6 separate regions of the Homo sapiens genome follow, and all the other regions are linked to region 2. Evidence: promoter capture Hi-C in human tissues and cell types (Jung and others, 2019). All regions are on one chromosome and are shown on one strand. Each heading gives the region's core, a stretch centred on a gene start or on the middle of the fragment in contact. The rest is flanking DNA. Distances are from core to core; before and after follow the strand shown.

The links. The method cuts DNA at HindIII sites, captures the fragments that hold promoters and counts their contacts. A contact is called where the count stands out against the background at its distance.
Region 1: a fragment that was not itself captured here is called in contact with the fragment with the promoter of PPIB in region 2 in 1 of the 25 tissues and cell types used here (lymphoblastoid cells).
Region 3: a contact is called between a fragment that was not itself captured here and the fragment with the promoter of PPIB in region 2, in 1 of the 25 tissues and cell types used here (mesenchymal stem cells).
Region 4: a fragment that was not itself captured here is called in contact with the fragment with the promoter of PPIB in region 2 in 1 of the 25 tissues and cell types used here (aorta).
Region 5: a fragment that was not itself captured here is called in contact with the fragment with the promoter of PPIB in region 2 in 1 of the 25 tissues and cell types used here (lymphoblastoid cells).
Region 6: a contact is called between a fragment that was not itself captured here and the fragment with the promoter of PPIB in region 2, in 1 of the 25 tissues and cell types used here (stomach).

What each region holds. Positions count from the first base shown.
Region 1 is chr15:64,515,974-64,518,708 of GRCh38, reverse strand. All of the region lies in intron 2 of ZNF609 (zinc finger protein 609), which reads right to left. Among named protein-coding and RNA genes, the nearest start is that of ZNF609, 57 kb to the right of the region's middle. The HindIII fragment of the contact is 5,470 bases long and covers 1-2,735 here.
Region 2 is chr15:64,161,651-64,164,519 of GRCh38, reverse strand. PPIB (peptidylprolyl isomerase B) reads left to right here and starts at 1,498. Exons shown (of 5, transcript NM_000942.5): 1 at 1,498-1,668; 2 at 2,366-2,479. The coding sequence starts at 1,534. RefSeq lists enhancers at 984-1,033, 1,140-1,640, 1,584-1,833, 1,641-2,141, 2,375-2,869 and a silencer at 1,174-1,533. The HindIII fragment of the contact is 5,042 bases long and covers 1-2,597 here.
Region 3 is chr15:64,548,259-64,551,078 of GRCh38, reverse strand. All of the region lies in intron 2 of ZNF609 (zinc finger protein 609), which reads right to left. All of the region lies in intron 4 of LOC101930091 (a long non-coding RNA gene), which reads left to right. Among named protein-coding and RNA genes, the nearest start is that of ZNF609, 89 kb to the right of the region's middle. The HindIII fragment of the contact is 3,265 bases long and covers 1-2,820 here.
Region 4 is chr15:64,615,568-64,618,267 of GRCh38, reverse strand. All of the region lies in intron 2 of ZNF609 (zinc finger protein 609), which reads right to left. The region is part of intron 3 of LOC101930091 (a long non-coding RNA gene); the gene reads left to right. Among named protein-coding and RNA genes, the nearest start is that of OAZ2, 86 kb to the left of the region's middle. RefSeq lists an enhancer at 49-641. The HindIII fragment of the contact is 4,834 bases long and covers 1-2,700 here.
Region 5 is chr15:64,642,048-64,644,747 of GRCh38, reverse strand. All of the region lies in intron 3 of ZNF609 (zinc finger protein 609), which reads right to left. Among named protein-coding and RNA genes, the nearest start is that of OAZ2, 60 kb to the left of the region's middle. The HindIII fragment of the contact is 6,546 bases long and covers 1-2,700 here.
Region 6 is chr15:64,579,001-64,581,700 of GRCh38, reverse strand. All of the region lies in intron 2 of ZNF609 (zinc finger protein 609), which reads right to left. All of the region lies in intron 4 of LOC101930091 (a long non-coding RNA gene), which reads left to right. Among named protein-coding and RNA genes, the nearest start is that of ZNF609, 120 kb to the right of the region's middle. The HindIII fragment of the contact is 4,653 bases long and covers 1-2,700 here.

The sequences.
Region 1 (2,735 bases), core at 186-2,685, 350 kb before region 2:
AAATCTACCCACTTTGCTCCTTTCCTATTAATACTATTCTGGTCCAGCTGTCTTGCTAACTATGCTAACAGCTTCCTAAATGCCTCCAATCTTGTTCTCCAATCCACTCTGCAGATGACATCAAGAGTAATTCTTCAAAAACTCAAAAATCAATCACTGTAATCCACTAAAAAGTCTAACAATAGTTTTCTGCAGATGTTAGGATGAAATCCAAATCCTTTAACAAGGCTTTTAAGGCCTTCTACTATCTGACCCCATAGCACTCCAGCCTCATCTTACCATTCTATTCCTCCTCCTCCAGTCATAGTGAACTTCTTCCAGTTCTTCTCATGCCTCAAGATTAGTCTTACCACTTAGCCTTTGATTATGCTATTCTCTCACCTGGCACAAGCCTTTTGCCCTCTCTCCCATCACCTGTCTAATTCCTGCTTATCCCTTTGGGTCTCTGTTTAACTATCAGAGAGGTTAGAGATCTCCATCACCTCTTTTGAGCAGAGATCTTCCTTGATCCTACACTATACTCTGGCCACCACTGTGCACCCACAATACCCTATGTTATCATTACTCATCAAAGTTTGTTATAATAACCAATTTATCTGTCTCCCACATTAGAATATAAACTCCAGGAACCCAGCACGATGGCTCACGCTTGTAATCCCAGCACTTTGGGAGGCCATGGCGGGTGGATCACTTGAGCCCAGGGGTTCAACGTGGTGAGCCTGGGCAACATGGTGAAACCCTGTCTCGACAAAAAATCCAAAATTGGTCAGGTGTGGTGGCACGCACCTGTAGTCCTAGATACTTGGGAGGCTGAGTTGGGAGGATCACTTGAGCCCAGGAGGCAGAGGTTATAGTGGGCCAAGATTGTGCCACTGTACTCCAGCCTGGGTGACAGAGTGTCTAAAAATAATAATAATAATATATATGTATAATTTTTATTTATATATCATATATATACACACACTCCACAGAGCAGAGACCACATCCATTTAACTTTTATTTTTTTAGATGGGATCTTGCTATGTTGTCCCAGCTGGACTTGAACTCCTGGGCTCACAGGAACTTCCCACCTCAGCCTTCCAAGTAGCTGGGACTACAGGTGTGAGCCACCATGCCTGGCTTCAACTCTTTATCCTAAGTGCCAGCACACTGTATAGCACATGGTAGTTATTTAATAATTATTTGTTGGATGAACTGAATGAGTATCCATAAATTTGAACTGCTTGACTAGGATAGCCCTCCAACCTGTAAGTCCAGAAAAACATTAATTTTGTTATAAAGCATCCCATATAGGATCTGTTGAATCACAGGGAATTTTGTTTTGTTTTGTTTGAGACAGAATCCCCCTCTGTCACCTAGGCTGGAATGCAGTGGCATGATCTCGGCTCACTGCAGCCTCCACTTCCCGGGTTCAAGTGATTCTCCTGCCTCAGCTTCCTGAGAAGCTTGGACTACAGGCATGCACCACTACACCCAGCTAATTTTTGTATTTTTTAGTAGACATGGAGTTTCACCATGTTGACCAGGCTGGTCTTGAACTCCTGACCTCAGGTGATCCACGTGCTTTGGCCTCCCAAAGTGCTGGGTTTATAGGAGTGAGCCAGCGTACCCAGCCCAGAGGTAATTTTAAAATCAGCTAATGCTATATTTTTAAAGCAAGAAGCTTAAAACTCGCAATTAAATAAGGAAGAGCCAGACAAACATTATCAAGTAAAAAGTTTCCGGAGTAGGGGTTAAGGAGAGAAGAAATTGATATAGTATAAGGGACTGCTGGAACCTGGTGAAAATTTTTAAAATCAGAATCATCCTGAGAGTTGATAAGCTAAGACTGGACTTATTGTTCGGTAGCCTGATTAATTCTGGAAATGGTTCTGAAAGATACAGAAACACATAAGAAGGATAAATGCAATTATAAGGAACCATCCCTAAGATAAGATCAATACAAGATTAAAAATATATATATATTCTTAATAAATGCCCAGTATATAGTGGCACCACAATAAAATCTAAGTTTTCTTTAAAAGTATTATTTGGGTGGGCATGGTGGCTCACACCTGTAATCCAACACTTTGGAGGATTGAGGCAGGAGGATCATTTGAGCTTAAGAGTTTGAGACCAGCCTGGGCGACATGGTGAAACCCCATCTCTACCAAAAATACAAAAATTAGCCGGGTGTGGGTGGTGGCGCATGCCTGTCATCCCAACTACTTGGGAGGCTGTGGCAGGAGAATCTCTTGAACTCAGGAGGCGGAGAGCTTGCAGTGAGACGAGATCGTGCCATTGCACTCCAGCCTGGGCAACAGAGCAAGACTCTGTCTCAAAACAAAGCAAAAACAAACAAAAAAACCCCACCTCTATGAGGTTTCTGCTTAACTCAGCAAGACTGAATAAACGAAAAACAAATACAAATAAATTTTAAAAATTAAAAAATATACTCCAGGGGGGCAGGGGAATGGAAGAGATTAAAGTAGGATTGGCCTGGCCCTTTTCTGCTTCAGGTTATTAGATATAAAACAGGAAGGAGGGTGAAATATGACTAAGGAATAAGAACAATAAGAGATCTGAAAATTTTAGTCAAATATGAAAAAGTCATTGGGGTTTTATTTTCCAACTATCTTCCCTGACTTTTCTCTGGCCTGAATGCCACTTCAGGTTGATAATTTACTACCAACTACAGACAGCCCTACCTAACTTGGTTTCTAAACAAGTCGATCTTTTCTTCTGTGACATGAGGA
Region 2 (2,869 bases), core at 249-2,748:
TCAAAGTGCTGGGATTACAGGTATGAGCTACTGTGCCCAGCTGGAGGCTACTTTGAAAACATGATTTAGTAAACATTTTTCTCTGGCTATGGCAGCCTGAGACCAGTGAGTGAAGAAAGAGGCTTAACAAAATAGGAGAAAAAAAAAAAAAAGGGATGAGAGATGGATCTGGAAGATCATCTTTGTCAGTATAACAATGTTTAAAACTTCCTCCTGATTGGGGTTGTCTGAATTGAGGTGCAAGGATGGGAAATAAGAGAACTGTCTTGAAGCTCTACAACCTGTGTAAGGCCGCTGTAATGAACAACAAAGTTAATGCCAGTGGCCTTGCATAACTTCAGTCTCAGGTCAGCGCCTCATGAAGACTACATTGCATAATTTATGTAAATGGAGCCCTGCCTATAATCTGTGCTGTGACGACCTGGAATTTCTACGAAGTTAATCGTTGAAAATTAGTTTTAAAGACGTTTTAACGCCATAGGTCCAAATTTTGGAAGTTTGTGTTTTGGTTTGTTTTGGTGTGTAAGACTCCCAGTACCAAAGTATCTATGTTGTAGATTGGGACAACACTAAGTGTGTGAAGACCTAAAATAGCCCTGTGGGGACATCTAGTAACTATTCCTGACCTCCGGAAAAAGGCATTGTATCCTCAGGCCGTGGCATAAATTATTTCTCATGTCAGTGCGGATGTGAAGCTATCCCAACCAGGACTTGTTGGGCACTCAGTACTGCCGCGCTGTGAGGGAGCTGTGGACAGAGTAAATGCAACACAGTCCCTTCCGCAGAAAAAAAAAAAAATGTAGTCTATTGGGGGAAAAGGTAAAGGAAGTTAAGAACAGCGTATACAATAAGATGTCCATTGATATACACAACAGTAAGCACAGCAAGATTACAGAAGGGAGAGAAAAATGGGTAGTAACTTGACGGCCTCAGTAAAAAAGGAAGTGGGTTGTGCAGCAAGTTTTGCAAGACAAGTGGAGGAGCCGTACAAGGCCACGCTCGGTAAGGATAAATGTCCCTGAAGTGTTTGGAAGCCACAACGTTTAGAGCCAATTTGGCGGTGACAAACACTTGACTGGCCCAAAACAGTGACAAGCTTCCCGTGCCCCTTGTCCAGGCCCACGTATTTGCTAACCTCAAGCGCCAGCTACCGCAGGCCAGTGGAACAGCGCTCCGGGCGGGGCGGGCCGCGGAGCATGCCGGGGCTTGTGGTCTTCTCGGAGCCCGGGCCCGTGCTCTGCGAGGCCGCCTTCCGCCGGTGGCCTTCCTGTGGGCGGGAGAGGGCGGCCGGGAGCCCAATGAGGGAGCAATAACGTGGCAACCACCCACGAGCCCGCGTCGGTGCCCGCCCCGCAGGGGGACCTACTATCCGGCGCCGAGCCGGAGGGGGGAAACGGCGCCCGCCGCCCGCCCGGAGCCCGCGAGCAACCCCAGTCCCCCCCACCCGCGCGTGGCGGCGCCGGCTCCCTAGCCACCGCGGCCCCACCCTCTTCCGGCCTCAGCTGTCCGGGCTGCTTTCGCCTCCGCCTGTGGATGCTGCGCCTCTCCGAACGCAACATGAAGGTGCTCCTTGCCGCCGCCCTCATCGCGGGGTCCGTCTTCTTCCTGCTGCTGCCGGGACCTTCTGCGGCCGATGAGAAGAAGAAGGGGCCCAAAGTCACCGTCAAGGTCCGGTGGAGTCCGCGGCATTTACGGTGCCGGAGCTCGGGCCCGGGCGGCCTTGGCTTGGCCTTGGCTCAGCCCCTCCTCCCTCGGCTTCTGTCTGTGGCCTCGTGGCGTCTGGGCCGTCCTGCCCATTCAGTCCAGGGAACGACCCGGACCCACCCCGACACCCCCAGCCCCTGCCCTGACCCAGGGAGTTAGTTGGATCCCCGGATACCCATCTGGGGCCGACACTGGCAGTCTCAGAGCAGGCTTTTTGCAAACACCCCTCAGTGCTGGGGAGATGGTGAAAGATCACGCCTGCCGGATTCCGAATCCTTTCTCTCCTTAAGCCAAATTTTAGCCACTTCCAATTACAAAGCACAGTATGTATACTTCAAACTTAAGTGGTGAACTTAGGCTCCGCTCCTTATGGGTTTTCTAATGTTAATTTTTAGAATCTGGGTCCATTAGCTGTTTAGAGCAAATATTGTTATCCTGTAGTCCAAGGAGGGTATAGATAAGCATGTTTTCCAAGAAAAGGGTCTGGAGCTTTCATTAGATTCTCATAGGATTTTTACCGTCACCAAAATCAGATTCAGAACCACTTCTCTAAAAATATGGCTCTATTCTCTCTCCCATCCTCAGGTTAGCTTCTTGTACCTTCCCTCCCCTAGCAACGCCCCTTTAAAGAAGCTAAGTTGGAAATGGTCTCTTTCCTCAGGTGTATTTTGACCTACGAATTGGAGATGAAGATGTAGGCCGGGTGATCTTTGGTCTCTTCGGAAAGACTGTTCCAAAAACAGTGGATAATTTTGTGGCCTTAGCTACAGGAGAGGTAAGTGGCTGGAGCAGGGGTAGTCAACTCACATGAAGTGAAATTGGCACTGGGGATGGCAGCAAACTGACCTGCAGAGTTCAGCCGATCTGTAGCGTGGACCTCACTGAGCACCGACTGCCTGTTGCCCTGGGAACACAGTATTGCCCTTTCTTAAGAGTAATGGGGCCCTGACCAGGCACAGTGGCTCACACTTAAAATCCCAGCACTTTTGGAGGCCAAAGTAGGAGGATTGCTTGAGCCCAGGAGTTCAAGGCCAACCTGAGCAACATAGCAAGACCCTGTCTCTACCCCCGCAAATTTTTTTTTTTTTTTGAGACGGAGTTTCACTCTTGTCGCCTGGGCTGGAGTGCAGTGGTGCGGCCTCAGCTCACTGCAACCTCCGCCTCC
Region 3 (2,820 bases), core at 64-2,563, 390 kb before region 2:
CCTAAATGTAGAAGCTAAAATTATAAAACTCTTAGAGAAAAACATACAGGAAAAGCTTCCTGACATTGGATTGGCAGTGATTTCTTGACTAAGACACCAAAAAGTACAGGTAACAAATGTTAAAATAGATAAACTGGACTTCATCAAAACTGAAAACTTATGCATGAGAAGACTAAGAAGACAACCTACAGAATGGGAGAAAATATTTGCAAATCATGTTTCTTTTTTTTTTTTTTTTTCCCGAGACAGAGTCTCACTGTGTCACCCAGGCTGGAGTGCAGTGGCACGATCATCGGCTCACTGCAATTTCCACTGCCTGGGTTCAAGCGATTCTCCTGTCTCGGCCTCTCAAGTAGCTGGGATTACAGGCATGTGCCACCACACCCAGCTAATTTTTGTATTTTTAGTAGAGACAGGGTTTCGTCATGTTGGTCAGGCTGGTGACCTCAGGTGATCCGCCCACCTTGGCCTCCCAAAGTGCTGGGATTACAGGCATGAGTCACTGTGCCTGGTCATCTATTCCTCTTTTTTTTTTTAATTATTTATTTTTAAAAACAGGGTCTTGCTATGTTGCCCAGGCTGGTTTTAAACTCCTGGCATCAAGCAATCTTCCTGCCTTGGCTTCCCAGAGTGCTGGGATTAGAGGCATGAGCCACCATACCTGGCCTGCAAATCATACATCTAATAAGAGATTAATATCCAAAATATATAAAGAACTCCCACAATTTAACAACAACAACAACAACAACAACAATAACAACAACAAACCCCAATTCAAACCTGGGCAAAACACTTGAATAGATATTTCTACAAAGAAGATACACAGCTGGGCACAGCAGCTCATGCCTGTAATCCCAGCACTTTGGGAGGCTGAGGTGGGTGGATCACTTGAGCCAAGGATTTCAAGACCAACCTAGACAACACTGTGAGACCCCATTTCTACAAAAAAACAGAAAAAAATTAGCTGGGTGTGGTGGTGCATGCCTGTAGCCCTAGCTACTTGGGAGGCTGAGGTGAGAGGATCCATTGAGGGAAGTAGAGGCTGCAGTGAGCTGTGATGGCACTCCAGCCTGGGCAATATAGCAAGACCCTTGTCTCTTAAAAAAACATGAAGAAAAGAAAAAAATTAGTTTGGCGTGGTGACAGATACCTGTAGTTTCAACTACTTGGGCGACTAATGTAGGAGGATCACTTGGGTACAGGAGACTGAAGCTGCAATGAGCTGTGATTGCACCACTGCTCTCCAACCTGGATGACAGAGTGAGATCCCATCTCAAAAATAAATTAAATTAAGCCCAAAAATGAAAAATAAAAAACATGGACCAAAAATCAATGGTTAAGATGGTAAATTTTATGTTATTTGTGTTTTCTTTCTTTCTCCCTGTCTCCCTCTCTCTCTCACTCACACACACACACACGAGTACAGACTCTGAAGCCAGATTACCTGGCTTTGAATTTTGGCTCTGCCAATGTAACCTTGGGAAAATAACCTAACTGCTCTATGTCTCAGTTTCCTCAGCTGTAGATGGGGATGATATTAATAGTACCTACATCATTAACTGTGAGGATTAAATTAGTAAATATACATACACTTCTTACAACAGTCTTGGCACGGTGGCTCATGCCTGTAATCCCAGCACTTTGGGAGGCCTTGGTGGGTGGATCAGCCTAGCTGTTGAAACATGGTGAAACCCTGTTTCTACTAAAAATACAAAAAAAGATTAGCCGGGCGAGGTGGTGTGCACCTGTAATCCCAGCTACTCTGGAGGCTGAGGCAGGAGAATTGCTTGAACCCGGGAGGCGGAGGTTGTGGTAAGCCAAGATTGCGCCATTGCACTCCAGCTTGGACTACAAGAGCTAAACTCCGTCTCAAAAAAACCAAACCAAACCAAAACCAAAACAAACAAACAAAAACAGTCTTGAAACACAGTGGGTACTATTTTATTTTTAAGTACTTATTATTATTAGATTCACCATTTTGAAAATAAAATTTAATGTGGAATTTAGACCTACAGGCAAAACTGAATTTCTCCTATGCAAAACGGAATAAAAAAAATTCATGTGCCTAAATTTCAGGGTTTTCAGGTGAACTCTTGACATGAAGCCTTTATATCCATATACCCATCTTTGCACCAGCATTACCACTACATGAACAGAAGAAAGATTTCTGTATCATCTTTTTTAAAAGATTTCATTTATAATTTTGAATATTTCATCTCAAGTAGGTTGTTTTGACATATATGCAGAACAAATAACTCTCTAAGAATTTCTCTTCAAGGGCTGTAAGCAGTTTATTATTCTTTCTTTCTTTTTTTTAAAGACAGGATCTTGTTCTGTTGCCCAGGCTAAAGTGCAGTGACAAGATCACAGCTCACTGCAGCCTCAACCTCCTGAGCTCAAGTCCTACTTTAGCCTCCCAAGTAGCTGGGAATATAGGCACATACTACTATGCCCAAGTAATTTTTGTTTTTGTTTGTCTTTTGTAGAGATGGGTTTTGCCATGTTGTCCAGGCTGGTCTTGAATTCCTAGGCTCCAGCAATCTGCCTACCAGAGGCTCCCAAAGTGTTAGGATTACAGACATGAGCCACCTAGCCCAGCCTAAGCAGTTCTATTAACTGAGCACATTCACTAGAGTCTATTGATTCATCGACTTGTAAAGAAAAGCATTTGATTTAATAGCCATCTGGTGTAGTGTTGTTTCTTTGGCATCTCACATTTTGTTAGAGTGTACACGAGTAAAATTATTCAAAAGTGGCACCTTTTTTATTTCCTTTGCTTTACTGTTCTCAAACATAATATTGACCATTCCTAAGTGAGAT
Region 4 (2,700 bases), core at 10-2,509, 450 kb before region 2:
GTGAGGGGGACAAGGGAACTTTTCCCATTTCAGGAGGAAAGTTTTGTCCCGGGGGTGAAGGCTGCAGTGAGCTGTGATCGTGCCACTGTACTCTAGCCTGTGCAACAGAGCAAGACCCTGTCTCAAAAAAGGAGAAAAAAAAATCAGAAAAGGACTCATTTTGCCATCTTTTCATATACCTAAAATATAAGAGCAGGGATTGTCAGGAAATTGGGGCCAAGAGGGAAAATAAGGTATAGGAATATTAAAAAGTTAAGGTCATTAGATGCCTTAATAACTACACCAACAAAAGTTAAGCTAATTCTCAGTCTTTGAAATGCTAAGAAGTGCCATCATGGCTCCTAGGGCTTAGCTTACTAGGGAGGTAAACAACAAAACAAAAGCTTGAAAAGAGACTTATAGAGAATTTAAAGAGGAGATCTCTGGAGTTTCCCAACACTTTATGTCCTTTATCTTTTAATACTTTTTGTTTGTTTGTTTGTTTTTTGAGATGGAGTTTCACTCTTGTTGCCCAGGCTGGAGTGCAATGGCGTGATCTCAGCTCACTACAACCTCTGCCTTCCAGATTCAGGCGATTCTCCTACCTCAGCCTCCCAAGTAGCTGGGATTACAGGCTCCCACCACCATGCCTGGCTAATTTTTCTATTTTTAGTAGAGACTGGGTTTTGTCATGTTGGCCAGGCTGGTCTCGAACTCCTGACCTCAGGTGATCCAACCGCCACAGCATCCCAAAGTGCTGGGATTACAGACATGCCTGGCGATAATTCTCTTTTCTTTGAGACAGGGTCTCGCTCTGTCGTCCAGGCTGGAGTGCAGGGGGTGATCATGGTTCACTGCAGCCTCAACCTCTCTGGCTCAAGCAATCCTCCCACCTCAGCCTCCCAAGTAGCTGGGACTACACGTGCACCACCATGCTAGGCTAATTTTTTTTTTTTTTTAATTTTTTGGCCGGGAATGGTGGCTGATGCCTGTGATCCTAGCACTTTGGGAGGCTGAAATGGGAGGACTGTTTGAGTCCAGGAGTTTGAGACTAGCCTGGGCAATACAGTGAAATTTTGTCTCCAAAAAAAACAAAAACAAAAACTTTGTAGAGACAAAGTCTCCCTACGTTGCCCATCCTAAAATGATACTTCTCAATTTACCTTTACATAGCAGTTTAAGGCCGGACGCAGTGGCTCACGCCTGTAATCCCAGCACTTTGGGAGGCTGAGGCAGGTGGATCACCTGAGGCCAGGAGTTCAAGACCAGCCTGGCCAACATGGTGAAACCCCATCTCTACTAAAAATAAAAAATTAGCCGGGCATGGTGGTGTGCACCTGTAATCCCAGCTACTTGGGAGACTGAGGCATGAGAATCACCTGAACCCGGGAGGTGGAGGTTGCAGTGAGCTGAGATTGCACAATTGTACTCCATCCTGGGCGACAGAGTGCAAAAAAAAAAAAAAAAAAAAAAAAAGCATGGTGGCTCACACCTGTAATCCCAGCACTTTGGGAGGCTGAGGCGGGTGGATCACAAGGTCAGGAGATCGAGACCATCCTGGCTAACACGGTGAAACCCCGTCTCTACTAGAAATACAAAAAATTAGCCGGGTGTGGTGGCGGGCGCCTGTAGTCCCAGCTACTCAGGAAGCTGAGGCAGGAGAATGGCGTGAACCTGGGAGGTGGAGCTTGCAGTGAGCCGAGATCACGCCACTGCACTCCAGCCTGGGCGACAGAGTGAGACTCCATCTCAAAAAAAAAAAAAAAAAAAAAAAGATATCAGTTTAATAACATATATAAGGATCTCAATGTTGGTAGGCAGATGACACAGAAATGGGGACTTGAGAGAATAGAGAAAGGCCAGAGTCATTCATCTCCCCACAAAGAGTAATTATAACTATATACCTACTTCAACTGCCTCTCACAGATGAGAGGCACTGATGGACAAAAATCTTCATGGCTGCAACATAACTTTACAGGTAGAAAATACACTGAAGGCCAAATGTGATGGTTTATACCTGTAATCCCAGCACTCTGGGAGGCCAAGGCGGGAGGATTGCTTGAGCTGAGGAGTTCTAGACCAGCCTGGGCAACATGGCAAAAGTCTATATTTACAAAAAATAAAAATGAGCTGGGCATGGTGGCACATCCCTATAGTCCCAGCTACTTGGGAGACTGAGGCAGGAGGATGAGGCAGCAGCTATGACTGCACCACTGCGCTTCAGCCTGAGCACCAAAATGAGAGACCCTATCTGAAAAAAAAAGAAATTCATTGAAGAGATATTTGAGATAGACCTTGCCTTTTCCCCTTCACAATGAGTCTTGTATCTTCACCTTCACAGACAAAAACGCAAGAAGGAAGTTAGTTCTACTGATAACAGCAGTAGTTCTAAGAAACTTTGTTTTATCCAAAAATAAAAAGGTAGTTGGGGATGTTGGTACATGAATGTTCAGATTTATTCAGAATTATCAGATAAGATTGTGTAGAAAGTAAGATGTCACTAGCTGGGCACAGTGGCTCACGCCTATAATCCCAGCACTTTAAGAGGCCGAGGCAGGTGGATCACCTGATGTCACGAGTTCAAGACCAGCCTGACCAACACGGCAAAACCCCGTCTCTACTATAAGTACAAAAATTAGCCAGGCATGGTGGTGCATGCCCATAATCCCAGCTACTCAGGAGGCTGAGGCAGGAGAATCGCTTGAACCCAGGAGGCAGAAG
Region 5 (2,700 bases), core at 119-2,618, 480 kb before region 2:
TTTTGCCCACCATCTATGGATGGCATTGCAGGTCACTTGGATAGTATCCACTTTGGACTTACATGCAAGACTTAGCAACAGTCCTTGGGCACCAAACCATTTTATAAGTTTTCTGCAATTTACAGTTGAACCCTCAGACTCACATATCAAGGCAGAAGCTCTGGTAAAGGTATACTTAGGTATGTAACACTGGATCCATCATCTGTTATATTTTAAAGACCTCTGATTCTTTTTATTATTTTTCTTTTTGTTTTTTATTGACACAGGGTCTCACTCTTGTCGCCTAGACTGGAGTGCAGTGATGTGATCATAGCTCACTGTAACCTCACACTCCTTGGCTCAAGTGATCCTCCCTCCTCAGCTTCCTGAGTAGCAAGGACTAGAGGCACACACCATCATGCCCAGCTAATTTTTAAATTTTTTTTTGTAGAGATGAGGTCTTGCTATATGTTGACCAGGCTGGTCTTGAATTTGGCTTAAAGCAGTCTTCCCAAAGTACTGGGATTATAGGTGTGAGCCATTGGCCTTGGCCTTCTTTTTCTTTATTCTTTTCCTCTTTTTAAAAAAAATTTGTCTTGGACAAGATGTTGTTGTTTAAAATAAATAAATAATACAAATAAAAAGCTTGTTCCCACATATATTTTGAGACAGGGTCTTGCTCTGTTGCCCAGGTTAGAGTATACCGGCAAGATCATGGCTCACTGTAGCCATGACCTCCTGGGCTCAAGTGATCCTCCCACCTCAGTTTCCTGAGTAGCTGGGATTACAGGTACATACTACCATGTCCAGCTAATTAAAAAAAAATTTTTTTTTTGATAGAGAAGGGGTCTTGCTATGTTGCCCAGGTTGGTCTAAAACTCCTGGGTTCAAGTGATCCTCTTGCCTCAGCCTCCCAAAGTGCAGGGATTACAGGCATGAGCCACCACACCTGGCCTACTTTGTTACCTTGTTCCCTTGAAAGTTGTATTTCCTTAGCTTGGTCAGAAAAATAGTAAGTGTTAAGCCTAATGTCCAGTGCTAGTATGAATAGTTAACAATAAATATTAATAATTGTTGCTGACACACTTTACACTGGTGCCAAATTGTTGTTCAATTTGGTCCTATTCTCTAGAAGTTGAATATGCCTTCAGTTATGGTCTTCTCTTTGCTTTCCTAGTAAAGTCCTCTTTACTCTCTCTAGACCTCTTATAATGGCCAAAGGTCCTTTTAACCACCACTAAATGATCAAAAACCTGTTAATGGTGTCTATGTAGTTCCTATTTTTATTTCTAAAGGAGAATGACAGACATATTTGTTTACTGATGTTCGGAGTAAGGGCAAGGAGGAAGATGCAGCTACAACCAATACCTCAACTCCCAGTCAGTACTAGTAGTTTTCTAAAGTTTTCCCACTCCAGTTTTCTAGTTCTCTTTAGAGGTTGAGGTGGAGAAACAGATCGTATGAAAGTAAATAAATTATAGTTTCTGGCCAGGTGTGGTGGCTCACGCCTGCAGCAAGGAATGTTGCAGGAAATTGGTAGGACTGAGAGCTGAGGGAGAGTTGCAAGAGGATGCCTGTGAGGAAGGCTGGTATGGAACTCTACATGCTACTACCTCTGCAGAAGCCTCAGATGGGAGAATGTAGAAATTGTTTCCTTCCCACAGCTGATCTCTGGTATGTTACTGTCTAATAATTAACTTTGACATGTGATTAGAGAGTATGTGCATTTATGAGCGCTATTTCCTCCAGGATGAAAGTTCAAACCAGAGATGTAGAGAAAGGGTAAATATATTCAGAAACTTCCAAGAGTGAGTTGCCTCCAGAAATGAAGAAACTAGAAAGAATTAGACCATGTGTGGTTACGTACTAGCTAAGATTTTCTTCTTAAATTGGTGCATAGTTGTTATCTGAAAACCATTTAAAAAAATTTTAGATTTACAGAAAATGAAAACCATTATAATAATAATTATTTTTTGAGACAGGGTCTTGCTCTGTCACCCAGGCTAGAGTGCAGTGGCACAGTCAGGGCTCACTGCAGCCTCGATCTCCCAGATTCGAGAGATCCTCCTGCTTCAGCCTCCTAAGTAGCTGGGACTACGGGAGTGTGCCACTTGCCTGGCTAATTTTTTTGATTTTTGGTAGAGAAGAGGTCTCATAGTGTTGCAGAGGCTGGTCTCGAACTCCTGGGCTCAAGTAATCCTCCCACCTTGGCCTCCCAAATTGCTAGGATGACAAGTGTGAGTCACTGTGTCTGGTCAAACTTTTTTTTTTAAACTGTCATACTGGCTGGGCGTGGTGGCTCACACCTGTAATCTCAGCACTTTGGGAGACCAAGGCAGGAGGATCACTTGAGGACAGGAGCTTGAAACCAGTCTGGTCAACACAGCGAGACCTAGTCTCTACAAAAGAAAAAAAAAGTTAGCCAGACATGGTGGTACACGCCTGTGGTTCCAGCTACTTGAGAAGTTGAGGTGAGAGGGTTGCTTGAGCCCAGGAGTTGGAGGCCGCAGTGAGCCATGATTGCACCACTGCACTCCAACCTGGGTGACAGAACGAGACTCTGTTTCAAAAAAATAAAAACAAAAACAAACCAAAAACCTGTATTTTAGCTCCAAATTTGTTGCTGCAATGCAAATTATTAGAGAGAATGCTTTTGCCATGCTATAAATACTCATGCCCTACCAAATTTCATGTAGGCAGAACCTCCAATCAGATTAACAG
Region 6 (2,700 bases), core at 1-2,500, 420 kb before region 2:
AATCAAAAGCCTGCAATCACAGTGAAAAAGCAGCAGCTTGACAATCACTAGATGGGGCAGAACAGGGTTGGCGTGCCTGTGAAGCTTCATTCCCAGGGAATTATCATTATTTGACCTTTCCGGTGGTTCCCTGGAAGGCCCCACTTGCAAGGTTATCTATATCTGACCAGACTCAGAGCTTACCCAGCATAAAAAGCCTTTTCCCTGGGAGGTAGGAGTATTTGTGAAAAATATAGGGAAGTGCTTAACTTTGTGGCTGCCTGACCAAAAAAACTTAAAAGGAAAAGCTGGGGAAGGACATGTTCACAGGGCTTTCCTGGAAATCTAGAAAGCCGTATGTTTTCTAGATTGTCTGAGAGTAGAAGAAAATCTTTAAAAAAAGCAAGCCACATGTATGCACAAGGACGTATACATGCCCAGGGCTGAGGCCACGCTCAGTAAAGTACTGAGAAGGCCCTAAACTCTCACCTCCGGTTGACCTTGAAGCTCTGCACAAGCAGAAAGTGAAGGCTAGGCCAGGATGGTGACATGCATATAGTCCCAGCTACTCAGGAGGAGGAAGCAGGAAGACAGCTTGAGGCCAGGAGTTCAAGGTCACAGTGTGCTATGAGTGTAACTGTGAATAGCCACTGAACCAGCCTGGGCAATATGGTGAGACCCCCGTCTCTAAAAAAATTTAAAAATAAAATTGTCTGGGCAACAGAGCGAGACTGTCTCAAAAAAAAAAAAAAAAAAAAAAAAAAAAGAAGACATTGAAGACTAGAAAACAGAGTTGTCAACTGCTGAGTATTTAATTCTATATCCAGCAAAACTATCCATTAAAAAACAAGGAAAAATTAAGATATTCCCAGATAAAAAAGAACTGAGAGGCTGGGCGTGGTGGCTCATGCCTGTCATCCTAGCACTTTGGGAGGCCACGGTGGGAGGATCACTTCAGGTCAGGAGTTCGAGACCAGCCTGGCCAACAAGGTGGAACCCCATCTCTACAAAAATTAGCTAGGCATGGTGGCGTATGCCTGTAGTCCCAGTTACTCGGGAGGCTGAGGCAGGAGAATCACTTCAACCCAGGAGGCAGAGGTTGCAGACTGCACCACTACACTCCAGCCTAGGCGACAGAACGAGACTCTGTCTCAAAAAAAAAAAAGAAAAGAAAAGAAAAGAAAAGAACTGAGAGAGTTCATTGCTAGTAGACCTGCCCTACAAGAAATACTAAAGGGAATCTTTAAGTGAAATGACAGGGCACTAGGCAATAACTTGAATCCACACAAAGAAAGAATGTTAGTAAAGCTAACTCCCCCATAGCTGTATTAAATGACAGCAGCAATAAGAAACTATTACCATAAACTCAGTGGCTTAAAACAATGCAAATTTATTATCATACAGTTCTGGAGTTCAAAAGTCTAAAATGGTTCTCTCTGAACTAAAATTAAGATGTCAGCAGGGCTGCATTTCATTGTGGAGGCTCTAGGAGATAATCCATTTTTCTTGCTTTTTCTAGGCTTTAGGAGGCTGTCTAAATTCCTTGGCTCATCCCCTCCCTCCATCTTCAAACTAAGTAGTATACCATTTTTAAATCTCTCTCTGACTCTGACTCTCTTGCCCTCTTCTTCCCTTACAAGAACCCTTGTGATTACATTGGAACCATTGGATAATCTAAGCTAATCCCCCCACCTCAAAATCCTTAATTTAATCACATCTATAAAATCTCTTTTGCCAGGTAAGGTAACATATTCACAGGTTCCAGGGAATAAGAAATAGATTTTTTTTGGAGGAGGCAGTATTCTGCCTACCTGCCATAGTAGGTAAATACAAAAGACTGTATAAATGTATTTTTTATTTATAACTTTTTTCTCATATCTGACTTAAAAGACAACTGCATAAAGCAATATTTATAATATGTGTTGATGGGTATACGTCATTTGTATGACAATAATAGCACAAAGGACAAAGAAGGGAACAGAGCTATACAAAAACACAAGTTTTTTTTTTTTGTTTGTTTGTTTTCCTGTGTCGCCCAGGCTGGAGTGCAGTAGCAAGATCACAGCTCACTGCGACCTCTGCCTCCTGGGCTTAAGTGATTCTCCTGCCTCACCCTCCCAAGTAGCTGGGACTACAGGCACCTACCACCACACCTAATTTTTTTTGTACTTTTAGTAGAGACAGGGTTTCACCATGTTGGCCAGGCTAGTATCGAACCCCTGACTTCAAATGATCCACCTGCCTAGGCCTCCCGCACCTGGGATTTCAGGTGTGAGCCAGTAGGTCTGGCTACTTTTTTTTTTTTTTTTTTTGAGACAGGGTCTTGCTCTATCACCCAGACTGTAGAGCAATGGAACAATCACAACTGACTGCAGCTTGACCTCCTGGGCTCAACTCATCCTCCCACCTCAGCCTCCCAAGTAGCTGAGACTATAGGCATGCATGTACCATCACTTCTTTGCATGTACCATCACTTCTTTTTGTTTTCTCTGTTCTAGCTAATTCTTAAATTTTTTGTAGAGATGGGTCTCCCTACACTATACACAATAGAACATATCTATTTAACACAAAAGAGGGCTGTGATGGAGGGAAAGAGGAACAAAAAAGACATAAAAAAATAGCAAAATGTAGATGCAAATCTTTTTTGTTTTATAATTTTTAATGAAAATTTTTTTAATTTTTAAAAAATCCAGATCCTGCACAATTTTGTTGTTTTTTCTG